7 separate regions of the Homo sapiens genome follow, and all the other regions are linked to region 5. The links are contacts of gene promoters, found by promoter capture Hi-C in human tissues and cell types (Jung and others, 2019). All regions are on one chromosome and are shown on one strand. Each heading gives the region's core, a stretch centred on a gene start or on the middle of the fragment in contact. The rest is flanking DNA. Distances are from core to core; before and after follow the strand shown. Region 1 overlaps PAPPA (pappalysin 1). Region 2 overlaps PAPPA (pappalysin 1). Region 3 holds the start of LOC124902258 (a long non-coding RNA gene). Region 4 overlaps LINC00474 (long intergenic non-protein coding RNA 474). Region 5 holds the start of PAPPA (pappalysin 1). Region 6 has its middle 41 kb from the start of LINC00474. Region 7 overlaps PAPPA (pappalysin 1).

Evidence for each region. The method cuts DNA at HindIII sites, captures the fragments that hold promoters and counts their contacts. A contact is called where the count stands out against the background at its distance.
Region 1: a fragment that was not itself captured here is called in contact with the fragment with the promoter of PAPPA in region 5 in 1 of the 25 tissues and cell types used here (mesenchymal stem cells).
Region 2: a contact is called between a fragment that was not itself captured here and the fragment with the promoter of PAPPA in region 5, in 1 of the 25 tissues and cell types used here (mesendoderm cells).
Region 3: a fragment that was not itself captured here is called in contact with the fragment with the promoter of PAPPA in region 5 in 1 of the 25 tissues and cell types used here (IMR-90 fibroblasts).
Region 4: a contact is called between a fragment that was not itself captured here and the fragment with the promoter of PAPPA in region 5, in 1 of the 25 tissues and cell types used here (mesenchymal stem cells).
Region 6: a fragment that was not itself captured here is called in contact with the fragment with the promoter of PAPPA in region 5 in 2 of the 25 tissues and cell types used here (IMR-90 fibroblasts and mesenchymal stem cells).
Region 7: a contact is called between a fragment that was not itself captured here and the fragment with the promoter of PAPPA in region 5, in 1 of the 25 tissues and cell types used here (mesenchymal stem cells).

Annotation. Positions count from the first base shown.
Region 1 is chr9:116,341,990-116,345,944 of GRCh38, reverse strand. PAPPA (pappalysin 1) reads right to left here. Exons shown (of 22, transcript NM_002581.5): 14 at 1,234-1,402. The region is part of intron 1 of PAPPA-AS2 (PAPPA antisense RNA 2); the gene reads left to right. Among named protein-coding and RNA genes, the nearest start is that of PAPPA-AS2, 20 kb to the left of the region's middle. The HindIII fragment of the contact is 7,322 bases long and covers 1-3,955 here.
Region 2 is chr9:116,318,135-116,322,243 of GRCh38, reverse strand. All of the region lies in intron 10 of PAPPA (pappalysin 1), which reads right to left. PAPPA-AS2 (PAPPA antisense RNA 2) reads left to right here. Exons shown (of 6, transcript NR_170222.1): 2 at 2,444-2,621; 3 at 3,500-3,640; 4 at 3,853-3,986. Among named protein-coding and RNA genes, the nearest start is that of PAPPA-AS2, 43 kb to the left of the region's middle. The HindIII fragment of the contact is 4,306 bases long and covers 1-3,572 here.
Region 3 is chr9:115,936,753-115,940,686 of GRCh38, reverse strand. LOC124902258 (a long non-coding RNA gene) reads right to left here and starts at 1,141. Exons shown (of 2, transcript XR_007061749.1): 1 at 1,023-1,141. The HindIII fragment of the contact is 3,170 bases long and covers 106-3,275 here.
Region 4 is chr9:115,911,940-115,916,097 of GRCh38, reverse strand. The region is part of intron 1 of LINC00474 (long intergenic non-protein coding RNA 474); the gene reads left to right. Among named protein-coding and RNA genes, the nearest start is that of LINC00474, 11 kb to the left of the region's middle. The HindIII fragment of the contact is 3,658 bases long and covers 391-4,048 here.
Region 5 is chr9:116,152,342-116,156,311 of GRCh38, reverse strand. PAPPA (pappalysin 1) reads right to left here and starts at 2,521. Exons shown (of 22, transcript NM_002581.5): 1 at 1,725-2,521. The coding sequence starts at 2,139. RefSeq lists a silencer at 655-744. The HindIII fragment of the contact is 11,414 bases long and covers 1-3,970 here.
Region 6 is chr9:115,964,084-115,968,188 of GRCh38, reverse strand. No RefSeq gene overlaps it. Among named protein-coding and RNA genes, the nearest start is that of LINC00474, 41 kb to the right of the region's middle. The HindIII fragment of the contact is 3,892 bases long and covers 1-3,541 here.
Region 7 is chr9:116,374,573-116,378,402 of GRCh38, reverse strand. PAPPA (pappalysin 1) reads right to left here. Exons shown (of 22, transcript NM_002581.5): 20 at 756-827. Among named protein-coding and RNA genes, the nearest start is that of PAPPA-AS2, 13 kb to the right of the region's middle. The HindIII fragment of the contact is 3,818 bases long and covers 1-3,558 here.

The DNA.
Region 1 (3,955 bases), core at 136-2,635, 190 kb before region 5:
GTGCTTGCAGTTTGAAGGCAAAGTCCACTGACCAGCCCTGGAAAATGCTACATTTAGTGACAGAAATCCTCAAATCCCAGGACAACCTGTCCCACTCCCCCAAGCCCCACCTGGGACATTACAGCACCATCTTGCTGAAGCAACATTCTGTCACATCACTCCAAATCATTCACTACCACCAATCTCACGCAGGACACGTCCTATCTTCCATGACTCCTTTGATGACTGTCTGAGGGAGGGGGTCTCCCTGCTACCAGTCTTACTGCTAGACTCCAAGCTACACCCACATGGAGTATCTAGAAGAGACTTTGTCAACCAGGATCTGACCATGTCATTTCCTGCAACAGCTCCCTGTTGTCCTGAAGATCAACCCCACACTTCCTGACTAAATCAACAGGCCCTGCACCAGTGGATTCAGCTGGCCCTTCCAGCCTCATTGCTTGGGTGAGTACAGAAAAAGAAAACAAACAAACAAAAAAATCTGTGGCATGTTTTTTTTTTTTTTTTTCTCATCAATGTGCTTCCACATACTATCCATGCCTGTGCCTACTACATATATTTCTTCCTTCTCCCCAACACACACCCCTTTGCTGATCTGTCTAGTTAGCTGTTTCCATGTCACTTTTCCAAGGCACCTCCCTTGAATCTCTCTGTGCCTCCACAACACCCTACAATTCCCTTGACAGCATTTATCACACAGTGGGGTCATCATTAATGAGTTGTCTGACTCTTCCTCCACCACTAGGCACTAAGCTCCTTCAGAAGAAGGACTCGATTTGTCTTAATGGCTTCTTTTTCTTTAGTACTTACTATAGCATCCAATTTCCAGTGAACAGATGCTTTGCAATGAATTAGTGAATGAATGAGCATCTCATTGACAGAGGGCTCACCTTGTCATAAAGCAGCCCATTCAATTATGTTCTCACTGTAAGATATTCATTCCAAAATACTCAGCCCCATGGTCTTGGAGATTTGCAACCTACACAAAAACATTGGTAAGTATTGTGTGGAACACTACTCTGCACAGGAACCCTTTTTCTTAGAGATTCCAGACTGCTTGCTTGGTTAATTGATTCATTCATGCATTCATTTAATCAATAAATATTTATTGAGCACCTACTATGTGGCAGCACTATTTTAAGTGCTGCTGGGTATTTAGCAGAGAACATGGTTAACACCCAGTAAGCCTTCCCTGGGCTGCAGAGAGGCTCTGAGCTCAGCACCTGCACATACCTGGCTCTTGATCAGCTCATCATCCCGCCGTATCTGGAGCACGTAGCCTGTCCGGCAGCTCACAGTACACTGGGCACCGTGGTAGCGGTCGCTGCTGGAGCAATTGAGAGAAGCATTCTCCACAGCCAGCTCTGGACAGTCAGTTTTCTCACATGCGAAGTGCACGCAGCTGGGGAGGAAAGAAACGAGGGGAAGAAGGAGTCTCCTCACAGGACAGCTATGCTCAGTTGGAAGATAAAGGCTAAGAGCCTCTTTCTCCAAGATTTCAGGGGGCTTGAGACTGAGGACAGAAAGGGGTGCTGGCTAGGGTGAAGATGACTCTAGAGGCAGCGATTAAAGTTTCTCATTAAGAGCACAAGTTATGGCAACAGACAAACCAGAGTTCAAATCTTGCCACTTGAAAGCTTTGTATGTTATCAAGATTTAAACCTTGAATAGCCTCAGTTTTTCCATTTGTGAGAAAGGGATCATCATGATTACAGTGAATATTTATTGCATTTTTCTACCAGGCACCAGGTTGAGCAAAAGCCTTTTTCTATTTTGTGAGTACCCACTTACAAGGATCATTTTGAGAATTAAATCAGTTTAGAAAAAAACGCATAGCAGAACTCCTGGCATATACTAAGCACTCAGTAAATGGTAGCTGGGCTGGGCGCGGTGGCTCATGCCTGTAATCCCAGCACTTTCGGAGCCTGAGATGGGCAGATCACGAGGTCAGGAGTTTGAGACCAGGCTGACCAACATGGTAAAACCCCACCTCTGCTAAAAAAGAAAATACAAAAAATTAGCTGGGCGTGGTGGCAGGCGCCTGTAATCCCAGCTACTCAGGAGGTTGAGGCAGGAGAATAGCTTGAACCTGGGAGGTGGAGGTTGCAGTGAGCTGAGATTGCGCCATTGCACTCCAGCCTGGGCAACAAGAGTGAAACTCCATCTCTAAATAAATAAATAAATAAATAAATAAATAAATAAAAATAAGTGGTAGCTGATGTTGTAAATATACCTATGCTCTATTACCTAGTTGGCAAAGTACATCACATCTCTGAGCTTCGGTATACTCTTAAATTTGGCCAACCTCATATAGCCACGAGACTCAACTGAGGTGATGGAGGTAGAAGTCTTTTATAAACTGTAAGATAACTTACACATCATTAGTGGAGTTGTACAGAGACTATGTCTTGCATCTTGCTGCAACTCTGAATTCTACCTTTCTGCCAGTCTGAATTCCACCCGTTCTTTAGGTCTAAGCATCATGCAAATTTCCATAGGAAGCTTTCTCTTGTGTCCCTCGGCAAGCACCCTCATGGGTATTCTACCCTTCTTTCTATAATGCTGTTGCCTCATGTTTGATGTATTAAAAACTCAGTTCCTCAGTGCCAGTGGAACATAACAGATTGCAGGCTAATCTTTAAGGATGCAAACAGAAACAGCATGAAATCCTCATTCTTGGATGATCATTCCCCTTGTATTATAGTTAGGCAAGCACTCAATAACATTAGTTACTATTTGCTGATTGCTTATATACATGAGCTCACTCCATCCTTACAACAACCCTATGAGCTAAGCGTTACTCATTTTACAGTTGGGTAAATTGGGGACTGGCAAGATTAGGTTACTTGTTTAAGTGCCCATCCAGAGGGGTGACTCCAAAGGCCTTGTTGTTAACCTTGTCCCATGTTTCTGGACTAGAACGTCCTTGAGGGCAGAGAAAATGCCTATTTCATCTTGGTGTACTTTGCAGTGCCAATAAAAATTCCTTGCAGATGTTTCCTAAATGGCAGGAAACCAATGGTGATGATGCCTTGCAATAGCTCTTAAACACTTTAAAGAGGTTGATTCTGCCTAACAGTAAAAGCTTCTAGGGGGCAGTTTTCTCTGACTTTTGCCTCTCTGACTGTGTCTACCCCCAACACCTGGCCTATCGTATGCACCGATGATTTACATCTAGAACCTCAAGGCTTTTATGTTCCTATTTTTATCTAGGAGACAGGGAGACATTTTGGCCAAACCAGTGTCAGAAAAGTTTTGCACTTTTTTTTTGTCGTTGTTTTTGTTTTTTGTTTTTTGTTTTCTCTCAGTTTCACGATACCCAACTGAGGGTTTTACTGGGATCTATTCCTATTCTCTACCCTCTGCTCAAAAGTATAGTGAGAAATAAAGTCTGGAGGCGGGGGGAGCTAAAAGCTTCCAAAGCATATCACAAACCAATTTACTTTTTTAAAGACCCAGAAAGGACAAGCATTTAATTTAGGTCTCAGACCCTCACTGATGGGAGCTTTGCAGTTCTCCAATACTCTCCTTCTGAAATGCAGGGCAACTGGCATTAAGGAACACTTGTTGAGACAACTCCAATTCTCTGCCCTTTTTCTTACTCCTGACAGCCTCAGCATTGTACCATGTGGAGACCTCAAAGAGACTGTAACTGTGGAGTCAACACAAGGGCTTTGACACTAAACAATGCATCTGTTCACATTGTGTAAGCACCAGGGGAAGGAACCACATGGTTCCAATTTAAATATATTTACTCTGTAAGCTACTAGCTCCCAAGCTGTTCTGACCTGTGCCTAACAGTTTGGGCATTCTTACTCTGCACGCTCAGAAGGTACCTGGGCTCTTATGAAGACCCAGAGGGAAAGATGACTTTCTTCTTTAAGTTGCAGAGCCATTAAAGTATAAATAGTGCCCTCCCCAATTATTTTGTGCACATTAAGTTCTTCTTCACAGG
Region 2 (4,109 bases), core at 170-2,669, 170 kb before region 5:
GAGATGGGGTTTTTACCATGTTGGCCAGGCGTCAGGTGATCCACCTGCCTTGGCCTACCAAAGTGCTAGGATTACAGGCGTGAGTCACCGCGCCTGGCCAGCACCAACTCTTAAAGATGGTCTGCCCAGTATGGGTGCTGCCTGTGTATTATCTCATTTTACCTTCCTAATAATCTTGTGAAATAAGCATCTTTATCCCCAATTGAGATATAAGGACTCTGAGGTTTGGGTAGGCATTGATCAGCCTGCCACGGCTTAGCAGTCAAACTCATGCTCGTCTGACGCAAAGTCTGTTCTCTTCTTACTCCATGGCTTGACCTCCCAATAACTCTTGGTCCATACCCTTGAGGTAATACACTTGCATTATGGTTTCTTGTTTGTCCATCTGAATCTCCATGTATGAGCTTCAAAGACAGTGCCTATGCCTGACTTCTCTTTCCTTTTCATCAGTGTCTAATGCAGGTTACTGGGCAGGGCTCACCAAATGTCCCCTATGTTAAACTAATATGGCTTTCCCAAGGCTTTATAAGATTGGTGACGCATTAGATCTAGAAATCAAAGTCTATAGGGCCTAGACCAATGTTTAGAGATAATAATAACCATGTAGTGCAGGAAAGGGACCAGGAGAACCAGGACTCATTCCCACGTGACATCAGTGCTACCATTCTCTCATCCATTGCACAGGACAGGCACCATTAATTACATAGTGCATCCCTGAAGGTAGGCCTCTAAATCCTTCTCAACAAAACACTATGGGGAGTCACTCTAATTGCTCAGAACTGGCCTAGAAGATGAATCCTATTTGCAATTCTTGAACTTGGTCATTAGCTCACTGAGGGGAAGAATGAGCTCTTGTCTTTTCTATCTTCAGTATTAAGAGCAGAGGAAGGTCCAGCTTAGATGCTAAGCGAATGTATGGCCAGGCGCGGTGGCTCACGCCTGTAATCCCAGCACTTTGGGAGGCTGAGGCGGGCGGATCACGAGGTCAGGAGATCGAGACCATCTTGGCTAACACGGTGAAACCCTGTCTCTACTAAAAATACAAAAAATTAGCTGGGTGCGGTGGTGGGCGCCTGTAGTCCCAGCTACTCGGGAGGCTGAGGCAGGAAAATGGAGTGAATCCAGGAGGTGGAGCCTGCAGTGAGCCGAGATAGCACTACTGCAGTCCGGCCTGGGTGAAAGAGTGAGACTCCGTCTCAAAAAAAAAAAAAAATGTATAACAACAATACCACTTTACATGTCTCATCTCAGTTAATGCATATAATGAACAAACACAACTCAAATCTTCCAACTTCAGGTTCAGGGCCTCTCCCACTACCTGCGGAGCACTATAGACCTCTCCTACCTGAGATCTTCTCTTCATTCCTACTTCTATCCCTGCTTCCCTCTTATGCCTCTAATTCCAAACTGACCAATGAACACAGAAAACTTTAAGGGAAGCCGAGGGTTAACAGATACACAACACAACACAACACACAGGCACACACACACATACACATACACACACACTTCCTTTTTACACACTTAATAGCAATGGCAGAAAAAAGAGAGGGGGGAGCCAGGCTTTCTTTTACCAACCATTAGAAACAATTATCACTTTCCCCAGGCCTCCAGAGCAGCTTTCCCCTTTGATGCCTGCCTTAAAGAGATAGAGGGGAAAGGGAGGGGTGGTTTGCGTTTCTTTCAATATGAGCATTTATTATTCGGCATAGACAGACAATCAAGGAAAGAAGCATTTCCTGTGTGCAGGGCCAGAGTGTGAAACAGAGAGATGGCTTCTTCTTCCCTCCCAGAGTTCTAGAAATAGCAGCAGATCTCAGAGCCTCTACCCAGGAGACACTTTCTGATAAGATAACTTGGCATTGGATGCCCTCCAGCCTTGGGGCTCAGCTCTGGGCTGATTAGCACCTCGTTGCTCCAGGGATCTGTCCCTAACACATTAGGCATTTCACACTCCTTAGGGGTCTCATACCCTTCAGGCTGGCACCTCCCCACAAGTCTGAAATCCTGGGATTTAGGGTGCAAACCCCTGGCCAGACCAAATGATCATGGAGGAAAAGCCAGGCTTTCAATGGAAAGGGAATATAGAAATCATATAAGACGTATTGCCCTACAGCATACTAACATTTTTACAGATAGGGAAACTAAGTTTCTTAGAAATGATATGGTTCAGAATCATAGAATTGATTCTTAGAGACTACTCATTAAATTCCTCAATTTCATACACACAGGTTCAGGATTTCTGGGGGACAACAGATAGATGTCTCAACCTTCTTCTAAGGGAAAAGCTTATGTTAGAGGCCTAAGACACCATTCATGAAAGTGGTAAAGCTAACATGTTTTCTTTGCCATCATTTACTGTCCAGCACCTATGTTCCAAACATAGATTCCCCACATTCCCGGGAAGCCAGTATTACTATCCTCCTTCTTGTTTGTCCTACAGATAAACAGCCTGGGCTCAGAGGTAATAAATAAGGTGCCAAGGCCACACCTGTTCGGAGTGGATGTTGAAGTCTGTGTTACTTCAGTTCTATCTCCTATTCCCAGTCCATTCTGCAGATGAGAAAACTGAGACCCACACAGTGTACATGCTGATCTTAATGAGAATGATGACAATAACGGTGAGGATGATAAATATCCAAATGCTTCCACCTCCATGGACACCATCCTTATGTCACTGTGATGGGGAGATTCATCACCCACCCCACCCCCTTTTTCAAATGGAGAAAGAAAATTCACAATAGCAGTGGAAGTACTGATTAATATAATGACACTAGTCACTCATTTATATTGCATGAAATGTTAGTTCTCACACCTCTACCCCATGGGGTTGGCATCAGCTCCCCGTTCTGCAGACAGTACAGCCAGGCATTGGGCCGAGTCCCTTCCCAGATGCCCGTTTTGAGGAGGAGATGGGCAGGGGGCTTGAGCTCCTCCAGCTAGTAAATCCTCTAACAAGGGAGAGTGATTAGTGTCGGATGTGGCGGCCGCCTTTTGTGCTGCTGACAACTGCTGCCATTAAAGGCCTGGCTGGGCTCATTTCACACGGGCCCTCCGCAGGCCTGCTCCCTGTCTCCCTAATTATGCCATTCACTAGTCGCCCAGGCCCGCCTATGAACTCCTGACCCAGCAGTGAAAGACTTGGGATCTCATTACTAATCTCTTAAGCCACCTAGTCCTCCAAAATACATCCATTTAAGTTGGAGGCCAAGGCTTTGGGGTGGGAGGCGGGGAGAGGGAAAGTCTGGCACAGAGACTTCTCATGACATGGCCATTTCCCCTTTCGGGAGACTGTGGCCTGAGCCACAGGGCAGCTGGCATGACTGTCCGGCTCAGCCCAGGGCAGGCCCTGCTGAGGGTCGGCGGCTGGGCCTCAAGAATAGGAGGCCCTTGGATGGGAAGGGGGAGGACATCTGGGCCCACCTGTTTGTAATTTCAGGGGTGCGGGTGGGGGATGAGGCCTGTGTTTGTTTTAATTATTATTATTGTTGTTGAAAAGGGAGGAAAAAAATGAGCAGAAACTGCTAACATCTGGAGGCTGCTGTCCAGTTTACGTAATCTCTTGCTGCAGAGGAGGAACACGGGATCCCCAGCCAGATGGTCCGTGGGTGACTTCACAGCACATGTGCTACCTCCAAGAGTAAGATGCTGACGGGGTTAAAAGAGTGGGATGCAAAACCTTCCTTGTATTCTTACAGGGTGAGAGGCAGTGGTTTGGGTGCTCCCAGGGATCTGTTTTCTTTTGAAAGCATCTTTTTTTTTTCTGTCCAGCCTAGGATCAAATGTTTCTATGTCTCTCTCATTCTGTCATTCATTCATTCAACATTTATTTAGCACTTATTTATGTGTTAGGTTCTTCATTCCCATGGTCCACATGAAGAAAATGGACCCCAAAGGAACAAAAGCAACAAAGATAAAAATTCCTTCTCCTCCCATGGGGGTGGGAGGTGAAGAACGAAGCAAGCAAACACTCATAGAGAAATGTGGTAGGTTCTGTGTTCAAGCTCTCTGAAGGCTGAGGGAGGGGCTTGGAGAAGGGAGTTGCTGAGGCAATCTATATCTGAAGGCCAGGTCTGAAAGGCAAGATCTTAATATCAAATGGGCTCTGG
Region 3 (3,934 bases), core at 441-2,940, 210 kb after region 5:
AATGAAGGTGGACCCTTCCTTACACTGTACAGAAAAGCTAACATAAAATGGATCATAGACCTAAATATCAGAGATAAAAGTACGAAAGTCTTGTAAGTAAATATAGTAGTATATATTCATGACTTTGGGTTAGGCAAAAGTTTCTTAGATATGATACTGGAAGCATAAGTGAAGACAGAATAAGTAGGCAAACTGGATAAGATCAAGTTTAAAAAGTTTTCGCTTCAAAGGTCGCCACCAAGAAAGTGAAAAGGCAACCCAGATAATGAGAGAAAATGTTTGCAAGCCATATATTTCATAAGAGTCTCTATAAGAGTTTTGTACTTTTATCTCTGTGATCATTCCTTATATATTCTAAAGGCTAAATATATAAGGAATGATCACAACTCAACAATAAAGAGAAATAATGCAATTAAAAAATGAGCACATATCTGAGTAGACATTCCTCTTCAAACAAAGATATAGAAATGGCCAATAAACCCATGAAAAGATGTTCAAGATAATATGACATGAGGAAAATTAAAAACAGAACTACAGTGAGACACTACTTCACATTGACTAGGATGGCTAAAATTTTAAAAGATAGTAAAAAGTTTGACAAGGATGAAAATGGTGGAGAAAATGATACCCTCATATATTGCTGGCAGAAATGTTAAATGGTACACCTCCTTTGGAAATAAACTTGACATTTCTTCAAAATGTTAAACATAGAGTTACCATATGACCTAGCAATTCCAGTCTTAGGTATATAACTAAGAAAAATAAAAATGCACTTTCATACAAAAACTTGTACACACATTTCCGTAACAGCATTATTCATAGTAACAAATTAGAAGCAACCCAATTGTTCATCAACAGGTGAATGGATAAACAAAATGTGATATATATATGCAATGGAATATTACTCAGCCATTTAAAAATGACATACTGATACATGCTACAACATGAATAAATCTTGAAAATATTATGCTAAGTGAAATAAGCCAGTCACAAAAGACCACATTTTAAATGACTTCACTTACATAAAATGTCCTGAGTAGTTAAATCCAAAGAGACGGAAAGTAGATTAGTGGTTTCCAGGGAATGGGTGGAAGAAGAGAATTGGGAGTGACTGCTATAGGGTATGGGGTTTCTTTGAAGTGATGTAAATGTTCTGGAATTAAGTAGTTGTTAAGATTGCACAACTCTGTGAATATATTACAAATCACTCAGTTGTACATTTCAAAAAAGGTGAATTTTAAGGCATGTGAATTATAGCTTGATAGAGCTGTTATAGGGAAAAAAAAAAGGAATCCAGGAGACATGATGACAGCAGTGTCATACGCTGTGAATAAGCCCATTTGATAAAATGAGCAACATTTATTGGATATAGCAACAGTGAGGTCTTTGATAAACTTGGCTAAAGATAGTGGAGAGGTGGGGTAAAACAAGTTTGATTCATTCACCAAATATTTATGAATTACATATTGCACAATGGCATGTGCCATTGGGATGAGATATGAATGAAGGGAAGAAAGCCAGATGATAATGGGTTGATTTGAAAATAGGGGATGAGAAATGAGAGACTAGGAGTATGCACAATTCTTATAGAAGTTAGGTTGCAAAGGGCTGAAAACAAAAATGTTAGTAACTGGAAGAGGACACACACTCAGCTTGTTTTGTGGTTTGTTATCTGGGAGAAACTTCAGCATCTTAACATGGGTGAACATATCCTCTGTGTAGCGCTGATGGAAAGGATTCATGGGAGAAGGAAGGATGGGGTTGATGACACACGATGGCATGGGGATAGCTCAAAGGGACAAGTTCTGGAGAAGTTCACCAGAGCACAGATGGAGGGATAAACTTTAGATAGCAAGGGACACAGCCATATATTGTGATGGAAGAAAGAGAGGAAAATGGATGGAAATGAAGCTTATCTTAAAGACTTGTGGGAGAACACTGAAGAAATTTCCTGTCCTGGATTCTATTACTAATAAAGGAAGGTTTTATCTGTGGAGAGCCAAGAATTGGTAGAGCTTCCAGACTCACTTGGGATCAGTGAAATAGTGGCCAGGGAGGAAGCTTGAGAGGAGCGTGTAGGAGAAACATGAATGATTGCTCTGTGTTGAATAGACAAATCCATAGAGTGTTGAGAGCTCAAGGTCTGAGACTATCAATTTCTTGTAGCCCCAATTCACAGGGTTGGACATTTTTTTTAATTCTCCCAGTTTTCAGCAGCAGTGTTCAGATTGTAACATTAATAAAGCAAATCAGTGAATATTGCATAGTAGAGGAAGTAAAAATATTCTATTGATAAAGGAATTCTTTAAAGTGGGCACCCAGGATCTAAGCTGTGGAAAGAAAGGGAAGTCTGGGCATGACTGGTAGGGAGAAATTAGAGGGGTCAAATGATTGAAGGTATTTTTTCTCTTCTCTCTAATCTGTTTTGGATATCCCTTCCTCCTTTCCATCATCTTTCTTCTTCTATTTCTTCTCCTTTTTTAAGAAGCTGCTCATTTAAGATTACTTTTCTGCCTGGTTGGCATGTTCTTGATCATGAGCTCATCAGTTCTTGAAGAACTGTTGACTGGCAGTTGCCTGTGTGAAGGTTAGGCAGGTTTAGGATGCTAGTTACCTCATGGTTCAGCTTTCACAGAGGGGTTTTCATTTGAATTTCACAGCAATCCTGCCCTCTAAGTGAAGCGAAGAAACAGAATCCACTTCAATGGGCTAGGGGCTAGTTGAATAATGTTCCAAGAGGTTTAGGGACAACTCTATGAAGTCCAGTACAGGGTTGAAATTCAGTTTGATTTGTTTCACTTTTCTCCATTCCATGCTGACAGATCATTTAATTTATATATGGAAATGCATGCATTTCATTCAGTGAAGGGAGTCCTATTTATTTGGAGGGATGTTATTTATAGTAGAGAACTCTTTAAAAATAATAATCCACCACATATTTTAAATATAATTATTACTCCATCAATGTAATCCTTCCTTGGTTTTCTAGATGATCTTTTCAATATATTTATGCTTTGCCCTCCTCCCCTCCCCAAACATTTTCTTTAAATTAGGAACCAAATATGAGCCAAGCACCATCTTAATGATGGTATGAGAAAGAGTCACTATTTACAAGGGACTTAAAATCCATTTGGGAATATAACACATATTTGTATATATGTATGTTGGAGTACATAACATGTTATGTTGGAAAGAGTTCGTTATTTATATTAACTTTTTAAATTTCATGTGATTACCCCGTTTTCCTAGAACATTTATTTGAACACCTGTTCACCCTAATTTAGAAATCAACTTTTCCTTAACATCATTATATTCATGCAATATTCAGATTAGAAATTTATCCTAGTCTCTGAAAATTTGGTGGCAGGAATTGTGTCATTTAGGTATGACAAACTTAGTGTTAATACCTAACTAATTCTTGCTGATTTTAACTGAAATGTTGAATCAAAACAAATACTAAATCTCAGCATGTATGCCCACCTGCATCAGCTTCTATATAGCTATTAAATTCTGATGTCCAGACACATACAAAATATCCTTCACTACTTAATAGCTTTGTGACTTCAGTCAAGTCATGCGGCCTCTGGACATTGATTTTCTTACTTGTTAAATGGGGGTAATACTTTCTGCTCTATTTACCTCACAGGAGTGCTCTGTTTTATAGGCAAAAGCAGAAAGCACTCAAAGAACATGTTGAACACACATACACACGTGTGTTTTCACACAGAAACACATTCTTTTGAAAGGCCATTAGATCAAAGAATCATAATATCTTCTCCCATGATATGGGTGAATCTGAAAAAACCAGGATTATCCATTCTGTCATAAATGGCAAGATTTCTTTTTAAAAGGCTGAATGATATTCTATTGTGTATACATACCACATTTTCTTTATCTATTCATTCATACATGGATATTTCGGTTGATTCAATAT
Region 4 (4,158 bases), core at 970-3,469, 240 kb after region 5:
TGTCAATGCCTGGCTCCTGGAAGATGATACATACAAGCACCTCTGCCTCCTCAGCCTTTCCCCTTAAAGGTTATTTAGCATTGTCTTAACATTCATTCATCTGTCAGACATGCCTTTTTTGATTTGACTAATTATATATTTGTAAAACTAAAATGACTTGGGCGTAGGTACAGTTGTATCCCTTGAGCATGTTTACTAAATTGGTACCTTTTGAAAAAAATAACTTCATTTTATTTTATTTTGAGACAGGTTCTCACTCTGTAGTCCAGGCTGAAGTGCAGTGACATGATCTTGGCTCACTACAACCTCCGCCTTCTGGGTTCAAGCAATTCTCCGGTCTCAGCCACCCGAATAGCTGGAATTACAGGCGTGTGCCACCAGGCCTGGCTAATTTTTGTATTTTTCTGTAGAGACAGGGTTTTGCTATGTTGGCAGGCTGGTCTTGAACTCCTGATCTACAAGTGATAGGCCCACCTTGGCCTCCCAAATTGCTAGGATTACAGACATGAACCATCGTGCCCAGCAGAAAAAAATAACTTTAAAAGGAAGTACATTGACAGGCTTTATATTATGACATTTTTTATCATAATGTGATAAAAAAGTAATTAAAGGAAACAATATGAAAAAAATTAACCACTTATTTAAAAAATATTTGAGTGCCTATACCCTATGCTAGCCCTATTCTGTGTGCTTAGGATTTATCAGTGAACAAAGTAGATGGAAATCCTCTCTTTTTCAGAGCATACCTTCTAAAAGGGAACTAAAAACAAATTTAAATAAATATACACGTTTGTTAGAAAGGAGTAAGTATGGGAAAAACAAGGCTTTAGGGAGGATGCAAATTGCAGTTTGAAATAGGGTGATCAGAGTGAGCCTCACTGAAAAAAATGGCATTTGAATGAGCATTGTAGGTGTTATGGGAGTCAGCTTTGAAGAAGAGTATTCCGAGTAGAGATCACAGCTGGTGCAAGGATCCTGAGGCAGGAGGATGCCTGTCATATTTGAGGAATAGCAGGGAGACAGGTAGAGAAGGCAATCAAAGTGTGATGCTTTGACTATCCTAGCCTCTCCGCCAACACACAATTCAGGGCCTACCCTCCCAAAGCCATTTCTAAGCCTCTCCCTAAGCCCCTGCTCTGCTGCAGTAGGCCACACTATGTTACGTTCGTTCCTCTTCACTTTCTAACTCCACACATGGAGCAGGAAACCACGTACATCATGGAGTATTATTATTCCAGCTCTCCTCTTTTTCTATAGAAACCACAATAGTGGACTCAGTCTGGAAAACATCACCAGGATAGAATAAAAAACATACACACAAAAAAATCTAAGTTACACAGAAGCCTGGAACTGACGTCCCCAAATCCTGTTTCAAACACAAGCCTGGAATTGACACCCCAAATGAGCTTCCACAAGATGACTCAAGGCCAGTCTTCATCTTGCTTCAGTATGTGCATGATAGCCACTAAGAGAAACTGATCTTGAATGTTTCCACAACTTGAATGTTTCATCCTGGAGTGGAATTTATAAAATGGAAAGAAAAAAATAATGATTTGTGGTATAAGTAACAATGCTGCCTCTCAGACGTATTCCGCCCCTGTGATCTGGATTCCATTTGGATCGAACATTTTCATAGATGTACACACACAGGGTGGTTCCCATTGCTTAAATTCGTACTCATAACTCAGCTTTAGTATCCCAAAAGGATCTAGTGATGGATCTCACAATCTTGTAGAGAAAACTGTTCAAGATTTTAACTGAAGTCGTTGACCTCCAAATCTTCTGTGATTTTATTCCTGAGTATTTCTGAAGAAGGAAAATTCTGGATCCTTTTCCCCACGTTCAGTAAAAGCTACATAATTTCAGTCCTCGAAAGCCAGAAAACCTACATATTTGCTGGTCATGATTTGGTGCATTTAATAGTGTGCAGCTCCTTTTGAAAGACCTAAATGTTGTTATAATATTTCTGATGAATTATCCAAAACACATTTTTGCTCTCTGATTTTTCCCCAGTGTCTCTAAAAACCATTTTGACAATGCTACCAAATAACTGTACTTTTTGTCAAGATGCTTAAAATTCATCAAACTCTTTTTTATCTGTAAGAAAGAATCCTGTAACTGGAACAGAATGACAAAGATTTGACACCTAGCACTTCCATGTATTACTTTCTGATCTGAAGCCAAACACTTAGGCATTCTGCACTACAGTGTCCAAGTCTGACTAAGCTACTCACAAGAAACTATGCAACTGTACTGTGGATTAAGCTTTGCCGGATAACTATAAAGTGATATTCAAGTGAAAGAGGCATTAAGGTCTGCTGCTGGTGGTCATGGAGGTCTCCTTGTCCCTGACGTAAAATTCTATGACATACAGCGCAGTTGCTTAGATTTTTCTAATCCTTTAAAAAAATCAAAAGCACTCACATGTGCATTTTCTTATTCTACTCATATTATGTCTGTTTCCTTTGGGAGTTAACCCCTCTGAGTCCCAAATCTATATCTTACAGCTCTTGAAACACCATCCTGTTTCTCACTAGGAGGATCAGTTTATGTTAATAATTAAGAACTTAGACTCCAGGGCCAGAAAGATTGCAAATTCTTTCACTCACTAGCTGCCATGGATACATTTCTTCACTTCTCTAAGGCCAAGTTTTACAAAGTAAACATAATAATGGTAATTACTATATAGGATGTTGATTGTATTTAATGAAATAATGCATATAATTATTTTAGCATAGTGCCTGCTACATAGCAAATGCCTTAAAATTGATTATTATTGTTGTTGTTGCTGTTGTTATTAATATTATTATTTAACCATAAATGTTATATAACTCTGTTTTTTAAATTAGGCATTGAGATTTTGTCTGCCAAGAAAAATGACTCTGGGTCATTAAGGTTAAAATGTTTAACATGAATATAATGTTATTAATACACTTTTCTCATAGATCATCACTTCTTTAAAAAAGAAAGCCATTCTGATGCATTATTCTGATCTCTGTGTTAAAAGGAGTTTGGAGTGGAGGATGGTGGGGAACTGAACCATCAGGTTTAACTGAGAATCCATTGTAATTAAGGTGCTGGGCTAAGAATAGAATTGAGATATTTGGACTCTAATCAATATGTACTTAAAAGAGAGAGGCCTTTCAAGTGGAAGAGAAAAGGGTATTTGACCAGCAATTCCTCTGCTACCATGTACACTGCTCCCTCCAATTTCTCTAACAAAACACACACGTAGAAACTTCGATGTCCAGGTTACTTTTACTAGCTATTCCCAGTTTGTCCAGCTCTCATTACAACCTGATGCCTTTTTCCCTGAGAGATGAAAAAAAAAAAAAAAAAGCTTGAAGTTTATGCAGGTACTTTGTTGCAATACAGATCCCGATGAAATTTATGATCTTGCAGACTTCTGTTTGAATCTTAGCTCTGACATTTACATTAGCTGTGTGACCTTGAGAAGATTCTGAGCATCTCTTGACATATTTTCCTCTGATCCAATGTGATGATTAAATGAGATAATTGAATCTATCGTTTCTTGAGTGCCTATCATTCTTCTTGTCCTAGGCAAGGTGAGAGATACCAAAAAATCTTTACATAGAGTCCAACTTTAGGAGAGATGAGATATGTATGTAAATCACACTGCGCTATTATGCACATAATGATGACTTAATAAATGATAGCTGTTTTATTATTGTTATTATTATTAGCAGTAATCGTATGATCATGATTATCTGCTATTGAAGAGCACTGGGCAAGAGAAGACACATAGGTTTTCTAGGCAATGGGAGCAACCAGAGCAAATGTGTTTGGGCTGGAACCCAAATGTAACTGGGACACTGAATGCATGTGTAAAGCTGACAACACTTAATAATTGCAAAACTCAGGAAGTAAATGTTGAGTCTTAACCCTACCGCCACTCCCCAGTACACACTGGTAAGTGCAAAACCAAAAGTAGAAGGCGAAGATTTTGATACACCTCAAGGCAGCTCATTTTCCTGCATCCTTATAGCTAGGACTATGCCTTAATCTTTTCTCCTGAGCAAAGGGACTATGGGAGAGAAGTTCAAACTTCGAGCGTTTCTGAGGTGAGAGGGTTTAAAGAGAGCATCTCTGATTGCCCCTTGGAAGTTTTCACAGGTTTCTTTTTCTCTAGATGTGGCA
Region 5 (3,970 bases), core at 1,272-3,771:
ATATACATGTATATATATATATACACACACACACACGTATTTATGTAGACACACTTACATAGTTAAAATGCATTCACTACCCTTTCACTGATGATGCCTGCATAACCCTGTGCTCTCCTCTCTCCAGGGAATGCCTTCCAAATCACTGGTACTAGGTAAAGACTAGGAAAAACCAGACCTACAGATTAAAAAAAAAAAAAAATCACCTCCAAGCAGCAGTCTCTTTGCTTTTTCACATGTTTGGAAAGAGAAGTCAACATACTACAGCTCTAAATTATCACCATCGTCATTATTATTATGGATAACGTTTCCTCTGTTCCAAATTAGACCCTCCTCTGGGCAAATAGGGCTTGCGAGTTAAAAGTGAATGAGTTCAGTCTCCTTCTTCTTCCCGGAGGAAAAAAAAAAAGGAAAAATAGCATGCGATGACGTCAGTTGTGGGTTGTTGGGGGGAATCACTGTATCGCTCTCCTTTGATAGCTGGAAAGCGGGGGCTTCGGGAGACGTATTCTTGGGATAGCAGCAGAGTGTGGGTCTCCTAAAGGGGTCTTCATGTCAACTGGATAGTCAGTGCTACATCTGTGAAAGTCCAAGCCATGGAAAGACAGGAAGAAGCAGAACTGCCCGGAGAGCTCACAGCTTTCCCTTCTAAGAAAGTGTGTGTGTGAGGGGGTGGGATCGCAAAACGCCTTCACACGTTTCCTGGCTGCAGTGAAGGGGGAACCCCTACTCTCACTTTAAGACGTCCCAGGACATGGCAAGATTGTTTGTGCAGAAAGGGAATCTCCCAGACAGAAAAGGCAAAACTTTCCTCCTCTCTTCCAGCGCCGCCCCCACCTCCGCTCCCCAGTTTTATTAAAGGCATTTCCACAGATTCATTTAGAGGGGGGAAAATGGATGCTGGAGCATTTCTAAGGTTTGCAATCCTCGCAAAGTGTCCGATTTCACTATAGGCTTTGCTGTGGAACAGCGAAGGGGAGAGAGAGGGAGGTTGAGGAGGGAGAACTCAAATTCATTACGGGCTCATAAAGTCCCATATGAGAAAAGCGCCCCGTTTCGCAGCCGCGTCTGGGGAACGCTGGCGGGGTATGCGTTAGGAAGGTCTCGTCCCAGCCCCGAGTGACAGGCAATGGGCTTTAAAAGCTAGGACATGGGATGGCGTGGAGGGGGTGAGGGTGAGTCCCAGAGGCAGGCTTCAATCAGTGAGCAACTTTGGGGCACTTCGAGGACTTCTAAGTCCTGGCCATTACAACAACCTTGCCCTTGCCGGCTTTCAGGGGAATGGGGCCTAATGAAGGGGAGTTACCTCCATTAAAACGTCAAAGAAATCAACGGTCCCCAAGTCTCCTTTCACATGCATCTCAATTGGGTCATCCTCCCTTTCATCCCAAAAGGAGAGAGTGCATCTGACCATTCGGAGCACGGGTTACGTGCCCTAGGCTCCGGGAACCAGCCCTCACTGGCCGAGGGTCCGCGGGGCCGCCAGGAGGGCTCCCCAGGTTCCTCCCAGGGATGGAGCAGCTACGCCTTCCGAGTGTGCCCATTCCACCGATGGAGCAAAGTGAGGCTCTCAGCTCGCCCGGATGTCTCTGCGCCGCTCGCGGGGCAGCTCTCGCACAGACACGCCCGCAAGCCCCCGACCCGCCCGCCACCCGCGCCCAGACACCCGCGAGCCTCTGGGGCCGCAGGGACGGTGCAGCGCCCGCCGAGGCGCCCTCACCTACCTGTGATCACTGCCGGAGACCTCTGGCCCCCCTCCGCTCGCAGCCACACTTGCAGCGTGAACGCGTCCCGGGGCAGCTCGAGGTCGGCCCGGAGGCGCAGCTGCTCGCCTCGCCCGCTGAAATAGAGCGCCCGGCTCGGCGGGCTCGGCTCCTCGGTGGCGCCCCTCGCCTCCCGCTGCTGCCGCCGCCGGGGGACGCGCACGGCTTCCCAGGCACCGCCCGGCGGCGGCGGCGGCGGCGGCGAGGCGCGGCGGCCGCGGGCCGCCCGGGTGGCGCAGGTGGCCGGGCCGGCGGCGGGGCGCGGGGGTCGGCCGGCCCGCGGGTCTCTCCGGGCCCGGCGGGGACGCTCGGCCAGCCCGCAGCCCAGCGCGGCGCTCAGCAGCCCCAGGTGCAGCACCCAACTCCAGAGCCGCATGTCCGACGGTTCCCCCCGCCCCCCCTTCGCCCCTGCACCGCCACCCGGAGCTGCCAGCTTTGGGAGCCTCGGCGCCTCGACTTTCTTCGCTTCTTCACCCTTCTTGGGCGAGCCCCCCTTTCCACTTGCTTTTTTCTTTTCTTTCTCGCTTTCCTCCTCAAGGTGTGTGCTCCACTCTCCCCACCTTTGAAAAATACAGCCCAACTCCTCCTGGTTGGCAATTAATTTCTCTCCCCGCTCCTTTATCTGCCTTATTTTTCCCCTAACAGCTGGTTGCCTTCCTCCTTGTTTTATTTCATTTTATTTTATATGATTTCTCGCTCCAAAAAAAAGCTCCTCTTAAGACTGATCCGCTGAATTCCCTCCCCCCAAAAGATGCTCTAATTTATTTATTTTTTGCGTCCTTTATAACACAAGCCACAGCCCCCTTCTCCCCCCCCAAGTCCCCCCTCCCCTCCCTCCTTCTTCTCAAAATGAAAGGAAAGAGGGGGAAAAAATCCCTCAGAAGATGAGTAAACAAGCGTATGCTAATCTGCTCCCCAGCGCTCCACCTTCCCAATTGAATGAGTCCCTGTTAAAACTGCGGGGATCATGACTAATCAATCAGTTTGGAGAGGCCGAGCTATCCAGCTTTCCTTCACTTTGCCTTTTGCCTCCTTTCCTTCGCTCCCGCTTCTCCACCACCCCCTCCTTTTCTCTCTCTCTCTCTCTCTCTTTTTTTTTTTTTTTTTTTAAGGAGACAATCTTAAAGTAACAATTTAATGAAATTCTGTACACACCCCCTTACGGTCCTCCCAGCTCTCATTCCTGCTCAAAACACACATTCCTGTTTTTGTTTTGTTTTGCTTGCTTTTTTTCCCTCCCTCACTCCCCCCACTTATTATTATTATTTCTGATGGCAGGAGAAAAATCTGTCTCTTCTCTTAGGATCCCCTTTGCACTTTGCTGGTAAACCTCATCCTTTTCTGTAGCACATAAAGAGTCTTGAAACTTGATTCTTAGATTTTTTTTTTTAATTCTCTCTCTCTGTCTCTCCCTCCCTCCCTCTCCCTCTCTTTCTCTTTTTCTCACTCTCTCCCTTACTCTTCTTCCCGCTTCCTCTCCCTTTACCTCTTTCCCTCTTCTTTTCCCTGTCCTTTTCCCTCTCAGAATTTCCTTAAAGTTGTACGATGATGAACCATTCCCCTCTTTTCTGAGCCCCCAGATAAGGCTGGCTTCAGCTAACCCAAATGTTTCCAAAGTTCTTATGGAATCATCAGAAGAAAATAGAAGAAAGGCACTGTCCAGGACATCTGCCTTTCAGAAGCTGTAGTCCTAGTACAACTGGGTCTCTGAATTTCCCCGAATACTCTTTAAAATACTCTGTTGGTCATTAGAAATTATTTTAATTTTATAAGAAGAAAATGAGAGAAAAATATTAATTTGCCTAATGTTTTCAACTTAAGCAATTCAGGTCCTCTGAAATTGTTAAAGTCACAGGTAAGGATCTGACCATTTGCTGCTTTGTAGGTCTGTTTTTGAACTGGGACATACATGTAATATATTTTTTTCTTCTTTTTTCCCCCTCTTTATAGAACTCAAAAGCTCCCCCTTATGGCAAAACAGATCTTCTTTTATTTTGTCCAAGTGTTTAATAAGTCAAAACATGTTAGCAATGGTGGATTACAAGCTATTAATTACCAATCTATTCCAATAAGGTAGTGATAAAAATATTCTGTGTGAAGTTTGCATGTGAATAGCGTGCTGAAAGTCTGCGATAAAATTAACTCCACTAAATTGTAACTTTCTTCTTCAATTGCTCTTATCTTCCGAGCTGCTCCAGATCTTTCTT
Region 6 (4,105 bases), core at 346-2,845, 190 kb after region 5:
AGAAGGTTTCAGATGGAAATGAGGAACTGATTGGGAACTGGACTAATGGTTGCTTTTGTTACACATTAGCAAAAGACTTGGAGGCATTGTGCCTCTGCCCTAAGTATCTGTGGAATCTTGAACTTGAGAATGATTATTTAGGGTATCTGGAGGAAAAACTATCTAAGCAGTAAGGAGTTCAAGAAGTAAGCTGGCTGATTCTAACAACTTATCTCATATAGATGAGCAAAGAAATGACCTAAAACTGGAATTTATATTTAAAAGTGAAGCAGAGCATAAAACTTGGGAAAATTTGCACTCTGGCTATCCGGTAAGAAAAAAAGGAGCCCTTTTTCAGGGGAGGAATTCGAGCCAGCTGTAGAAATTTGCATAAGTAAAAAGGAGCCAAGTGGTAATAGCCAAGACAATGGGAAAAAGGTCTCAAAGGCATTTTGGAGACCTTCACAGTAGCCTCTCCCATCACAGACCCAGAGGCTCAGGAGGGAAGAATGGTTTCCTGGGCTAGGCCCAGGGCCCCACAGCCCTGCACAGCCTCTGGACACTGCTCCCTGCATCCCAATCACTCCAGCTCCAGCTGTGGCTAAAAAGGTCCCAGGTATAGCTCAGGCCATTACTTCAGAGGGTGCAAGCCATAAGCTTTGGCAGCTTCCACGTGGTGTTAAGCCCATGGGTGCACAGAGTGCAAGAGTCAAGGCTTGGGAACACCTGCCTAGATTTCAGAGAATGCATGGAAAAGCCTGGAGGTCTAGGCAGAAGCCTGTTGCAGGGGTGGAACCTTTATGGAGAACCTCTACTAGGGCAGTATAAAGTGGAAATGTGGGGTTGGAGCCCCCACATAGAAGCCCCACTGGGACACTGCCTAGTGGAGCTGTGAGAAGAGGGCCATGATCCTCCAGACCCCAGCATGACAGATCCATTGACAGCTTGCAAGGCGTGCCTGGAAAAGCCACAGGCACTCAATGTCAACCTATGAGAGAAACCATGGAGGCTGAACCCTGCAAAGCCACAGGGGTGGAGCTGCCCAAGTCCTTGAGAGCCCACCCTTTGCACCAGTGTGCCTGGATGTGAGACACGGAGTCAAAAGAGATTATTTTGGAGCTTTAAGGTTTAATGGCTGCCTTGCTGGGTTTCAGACTTGCATGGGGACTGTAGCCCCTTTCCTTTGGCCTATCTCTCCCTTTTGGAAAGGGTGTATTTACCCAATGCCTATACCTCCAATGTAGCTTGGAAGTAACTAACTTATTTTTGATTTTCCAGGCTCACAAGCAGAAAGAACTAGCCTTGTCTCTGATGAGACTTTGGACTTTGGACTTTTGAGCTAATGCTGGAATGAGTTAAGACTTTGGAGGACTATTGGAAAGGCATGACTATATTTTGCAATGTGAGAAGAACGTGGAGTTTGGAAGAGCCAAGGGTGGAATGATATGATTTGGATCTATGTCCCCACCAAATCTCATGTCAAATTGTAATCCCCAGTGTTGTAGGTGGGTCCTGGTGGGAGGTGATTTGATCATGAAGGCAGAGCTCTCACGAATGGATTAGCACCAACCCTTTGGTGCTGTTCTCATGATAGTGTGTGAGTTATGATATCCGGTTGTTTAAAAGTATGTTATATTTCCCTCCTCTCTCTTGGTCCTGTTCCTTTCAAGTAAGATGCCTTCTCCTTTACCTTCCCAAATGAGTAAAAACTCTCTGAAGCCTCCCCCAAAACAGATACCATCATGTTTCCTGTACAGCCTGTGAAACTGTGAGCCAATTTTACCTCTTTTCTTTATAAATTACCCAGTATCATGTATTTTTAATAGCAGTATGAGAACAAGCTAATACACATGCCAACTACATTTCATAAATATCCTTAATTCTCACGGTATGAGAAACAGGTGGTATATGCCCATTTTACAGATGACAAATTGGAGTCTGAAAGAAACTAAGTGACTTGCCTAAGTCTCTGTAGCTAATAAACAATGAAACTGGAAATCAAGTCAAGTTCTTTCCAACTCTTCGTATCTCAATTGTATTGTGTCTATATTCAAAACAGATTTGACTTCGTTAGTTTCAAATTCAGAGGTGCATAGCCAAATCTGTCTTTAATGCCCTTTGAAGTTATACATGGTTTTCAAGCTCGTGACTACTATTATTGGATCTCTACCATGTCCCAGCATTTTCATATACTATTGAATCATTTTGGATCCTGATGAGAATCTAGCCTGGTGAACATTAATTTCTTCATTTGCAAAATGAAGAAAATATGATTAAAGAAAGAAAGCAGAGCTTTCCTAAAGCCTGCATATTAAGTAGGTGGCTCACACAAAATTTAAGCATTGGTTGGCTAAATTCAAGATCAGAGATGTTTTCATTGTAATATATAATATTGATAGTGTTAAGTACCGTTTTGGTCATTCAAAAAAGGGAATTATTTTACATGACTGGGGAGTTAGAATAGACTCTATGAAGCAGGGAGGTTTTTGACAGCACTGGAAGAAAGCATGGAGTTTGGATAAACACAGATATGAGTAAGAAGGAAGAACATTTTCAAGATCAGAGATGTTTTCATTATAATATAGAGGTAGGGGACTTAGGAAGATCTCATGGAGTATATAGGGATTGATGTTTGCCAATATGGTCCTCAAACATAATTGTGCATAAGAATCAGCTGGAAACTTGTTAAAATTCCCATGAATTACTGGGCTCAAATTTACAGATTCTGATTCAATATGTCAAACATGATAACTAGGAATCTGTGTTTCTACCAGGTCCCCAGATTAATGTGCTGCAGGTAGATTTCTTAGACCCTACTGACCACCACCCAGGGCTTCTAGCCTGGACATTTAGCGAGGCTCAACTTTTGAAATCCTTTATTGCTGTTCCCAGCACTGAGGGAGAAAATGACACATCTCCTTCTGGAAGGAGGCAGAGGCTTGGAGCTTCCAGTCCTGAGTATTCTGCACTTGGCTTCCGTTCTCTGTGTCGATTAGGCCTTTCAAACCAATTACCATTATATATTGCTGAGATTTATAGTCCTTGGTATTTGAGGTTACAAGACTTCCGTTCTCAGGAAGAAGCTCCATGCCATCACTTCTAATCAGCTCAGCACAATGTCTGATTTCCCCTCTGTAAGAGGGCACAATGTTCCATTAGAGTATTAATAGCCAGGCAGAATGGCCTCAATTGCAGTGCTTGGGGAAACATAAAAATTGGCTTTGGGGGTCCAAATTTTTAAAGAACTGTGCTCCTTCTTATCAAAATAAAGACAATGACTCAACAAAAATGGCTAAGAAAAAAAATCCCTGACTTCCAATAGGTAGAGTACAGTACATAGAAAATGAATCTCTCCAAAATGTGGGCAAGATAGTCTTTCCTGGGCTTACTATGATAAAGAGAGAATTTGCTCCAAGTTCAAAGCACAAATAATATATAGCACAGTCTGTGAACAATTAATTTATTTAATATTTACTAAATGTTATGATTTAATTGGCAAGCAGATGAGTACAAGACAGCTGGGTGTATATCTTCCATAACCATTATTTCATTCATTTATTCATCTATCCATCCATCCATGTCTTCATTTATCCATCCACTATCCACCATTTACTCAAACAATTACTGAGTGCTATTTGCCAATCATTATATTATGATGTTGAAATATTCAAATATTCCATCTTCAGATAATTTACAATCCACTCAAGAAAGACGTCTAATGCTTCTCCATTGCCTATAGAATTCAGAAAGTCCTAAAACCTTTTACCCTGTACTTCTAGCCTACATTTTCAGCCTCATTTCTCAGCCCTTTTATAATATATAAGCTAATCTATGTATCTTTGCACTTTCTGTTTCCTCAAACAAAAAATGTCCTTCCTTCTTACTCATACCTGTGTTTATCCAAACTCCATGCTTTCTTCCAGTGCTGTCAAAAACCTCCCTGCTTCATAGAGTCTATTCTAACTCCCCAGTCAGGTAAAATAATTCCCTTTTTTGAATGACCAAAATGGTACTTAACACTATCAAGTGCAATTACTCTTTGCTCTGTCTCACAGAATTTTTGTTAATATGTCTTTTCATCTCATGAATCTTGAGCTCCGATGATTGAAAAACAGGCAAGCCTCAA
Region 7 (3,830 bases), core at 400-2,899, 220 kb before region 5:
GCCAGCTGGGAAGAGCCACAAGGGGCAGAGTGATGTGCAGAAATGTCTTTGAGTTCCGTGGACAGCCCTCCCTTCAGGACACAGCTGATCTCCCAAGAACCATGCTCCTTGAGTCCTCCCAAGCTTGTCACTGACACACAGAGACAGATCTCTATAATTCCAAGCTGTAAGGAATGGCTCAACTGTGAAGTCATAGAATTTAAGGGTTATAAAGGCTCTTTCACTTCAGCTCAATGGTTAGGTCTAAGGCATTCATATTCCTTCTGGGATTGAGGCATGAGTAAATGACTAAGATGTGGGGCAGAAGGAATAGGTCTGCAAGTAAAGGTCATCAGTAAAATGGAAATTAAAAATAAAACCACCTCACCTGACTCTGTAAAGGTTAAATGTAACAATGTTGGTAAATTTCCAACATTAGCATATTCTAGATGGTAAATCATTATAGCCCCCTGCCCTTCCTTTCTTACAGATCCCATATTTTGTAGACCACAGGCTCTGGAGCCACAAAAGCCTGGCTTGGAACCCAACTCTGTTACCCATTCCCTATGCTTTTTAGTATGTTTCTTTATATCTCTGTGCCTCAATTCCATCATCTGTAAAATAAGGCTGCTAATCCCTGTCCAAGAAGTCTGCTAAATGGATATTTTCAACACTCAGTAGGTATGGCAAAGGATAGCCAACATTAATATAACAATAACAATAACAACAGCAGGATTATTTCCAGGGAACTGAGGAGTGCCTTCCTTGTGACTCACCTCACAGCCTTTGACACAGTGAATCAGAGCAGGGTGAGGATACCACTTGAGACCAGCAGTGCAGACAACTCTCTGTGGGAAGAGGGAGAGAAAGGTCAGATGGGCTTGGGATTGGGAGGGACCCACCTCCGTGTTGGCATTACATTTAACCACCTCACCTCTTCTGGGACCTTCCAATTCCTGACCTCACCCTGGCTTTTACATGGAGAACTTGCCCGGGTACTTGCAATAACAGGAGCCACAAGATTAAAATAATATTTGTGTTCACCGCATGTGTCATGGTTCTGTATTTCCCTGGCAGGAACAAGGGTTGAGGAGAAGCAGAACTGGAGGGTAGAGACACGATCAGAAAGGCCTTTCAGAAAATTCTCGACTAATATTCGACCCATTCGTGGAGTTGGGATAAGGTGGGGGGAGGAGGGGTGTGTGTGTGTGTGCGCATGTGTGTGTTTGCATGTGTGTGTGTGTATGTGTGCATACATGTGTGTGACTGCAGCAGGCGGATGGGAGAAAACTGTGGAGCAGCATTTCTCAAAGCATGAGCTGAAGACCACTTTCATCAGCATTGCCGTGGGAGTGTGTTTAATTAACGGCAGATTCCTCAGACCTGCTTTGGATTTAATGAATTGGACTCTCTGAGACCAGGCCCTGAGACTCTGCATTTTAGCAAGCCTTGCAGATGATTCCAATGCACACTACAGTCTGAGAGCACATGGGCTATTATGAACCAACCTATGGTTCAAATCCCTGGAAAGGCAGAGAACCCCTCTGCTGTCACCTGCTGCCGTGTCATACTGGTCTGCCCACAGTTCTCTGAGGTTGCCCACAGTGAATTCGTTCTTGCTCTTCCCCTTCCCTGAATGCCCTTCCCCATTTTGTCACTTTGAGAATCTTTTAAATGTCTGCTCAAAATTTATGTCTTCTTTGGCACTTTTCCTAGCCCCGTTAGGCAGAGCTTATAGGCACTTATTTATAGCCTCCTCTTTAAAAATAATAATTATGATGAAGATAATGACAACTAAAATATATTGAGTATATTCATTGTGCTAATTACTGTATGCATTATCTTATTTATTTCTTGCCATGATGATGTGAGGTGGGCATTAATCTTGTGTCATAAGAGAGTAAATTCCCCATGCTCCATAGCTGTTTGGTGGAGAAACCAGGATTTGAAAATAACCAGTTGTTTCAGAAATGATTTAATAAAGCTCATAACATAAAATCCAACATGATGATATTTTAAAAAGTGGGTGAAATAAGAAAGCTAAATAAGACTAGAAAGATAACATAGTATTAGGAATACAGTTACCATAAAAATTCTAGAAGCTTGGCCAGGCGTGGTGGCTCACGCCTGTAATCTCAGCACTTTGGGAGGCCGAGGCAGGTGGATCATGAGGTCAAAAGATCGAGACTATCCTGGCCAACATGGTGAAACCCCGTCTCTACTAAAAATACAAAAATTAGCTGGGTGTGGTGGCATATGCCTGTAGTCCCAGCTACTTGGGAGGCTGAGGGAGGAGAATCGCTTGAACCCGGGAGGCAGATGTTGCAGTGAGCTGACATCATACCACTGCACTCTAGCCTGGCGACAGAGCGAGACTCCGTCTCAAAAAAAAAAAAAAAAAATCCTGGAAGTTCCCTTTTCTATTCTCCATGGATGCCCCAGTTTTCATGCCAGATTACAATTATTTCTTTAAAGAATAAAATGAAATAAAATAAAATGGTACATGCTTAGATGTGTAGTGACAGGTAACTGTGAACAACCAACTATGGAAGTCCACATGATCAGAGGTTGTTCAACTGACTGAGAGGCCAGTTGATTAATTTTAATTAAAAAATGAAGAGTCACCTGGGCCAAAATGTGGAAAATCCATGTAAACAGCCTATTCTCTCCCTGAGGGCAGACCTATATGGTAGCCAAATTGTAATTAGGCCTCTTGGTGAGGCTGTGACAGAGGGAATCAGGTGACCCCAAGACTGGATTGGGTGCCTTTCTTCTCTGCTCCATAAAATCTCAGGTTCACATTAGATATGCCATGCCTTCAGGAATGCCTGACAGAGGGGATGCTAAATAAATATTTATTTTATAAAGGAACAGATTCTTCTCAAAATAGAGATGATTTTACCAGTGGACAATAATTTCTTTACTTGTCTTCCTGTCTTCTAGAGCATCAGAAGATCATCTAAGGTCAAGCACTAGACTTGTCCTCTAAACAAGTCTAGTTTAGAGGATCAGTTTAGTATAGGCTGAATGTAGCCACTATCAACCTTCAAGTAAATCAAAGACCTTGGAGAAAGAGCTTAACTTGATGATCTTCCAATCAGTCTTGCAATGTGAAATCTACTGTCTTGCATCTTACTGCTTCTATTGAAATTGTCTACCCATCCCCAGTACACGCATAAAGTGGTATATGGGAAAAGTCATGGGATATGATATGGGACAGATGTGGTTGCAATTCTGATTTGGAATTGCTTTGTACATTTCCACTATGAGATTTGGTTCTCTCATCCACAAGATAGGTACTGAAAACATCATAGACTTGTTGAGATGGTGCATTCATATAAATGCTGTGAAAATGGTAAACCTAGTACCAATTTCTTAAGTTTCTTGAGGGCAGATCCTGAGTTATAGACACTTCTGTATCCTTCCAGGGTGAAGCGTGGAGCACAGTGAAGAAATACATGAAGGAATGTGATACAAATACAAATGAGGGAATTTGGGTTGTTTCAGTATTCCTTTCTTTCAATTAAGCTACGTTCTTCCCCCTCTGCCTCCCAGCCATGGGGCTGGGTGAAGAGGATCACCTGCTTTCATTCTCTTAACCAGATTTTCCTCTCTCAGTATGAGAGTCTGTTCCCAGTCAAAATCCAGAGATGTTGGAGGGCATTTGGTAAAGGTTCAAGAAGTGGAAAACAGCAGAGTTAGAATCCACTAGGGATTCGATGCCCATGCCTTCCCCTGTTTATTTGAGAGCTAATTTAATCCATCTGTAGGAGTGTCTTGGTGTGGTTGTACAAGTTTCTGTCAGTTGAGGTTTACCTGACGTGAGTTTGGAAAAAGGACTTTTATACTAT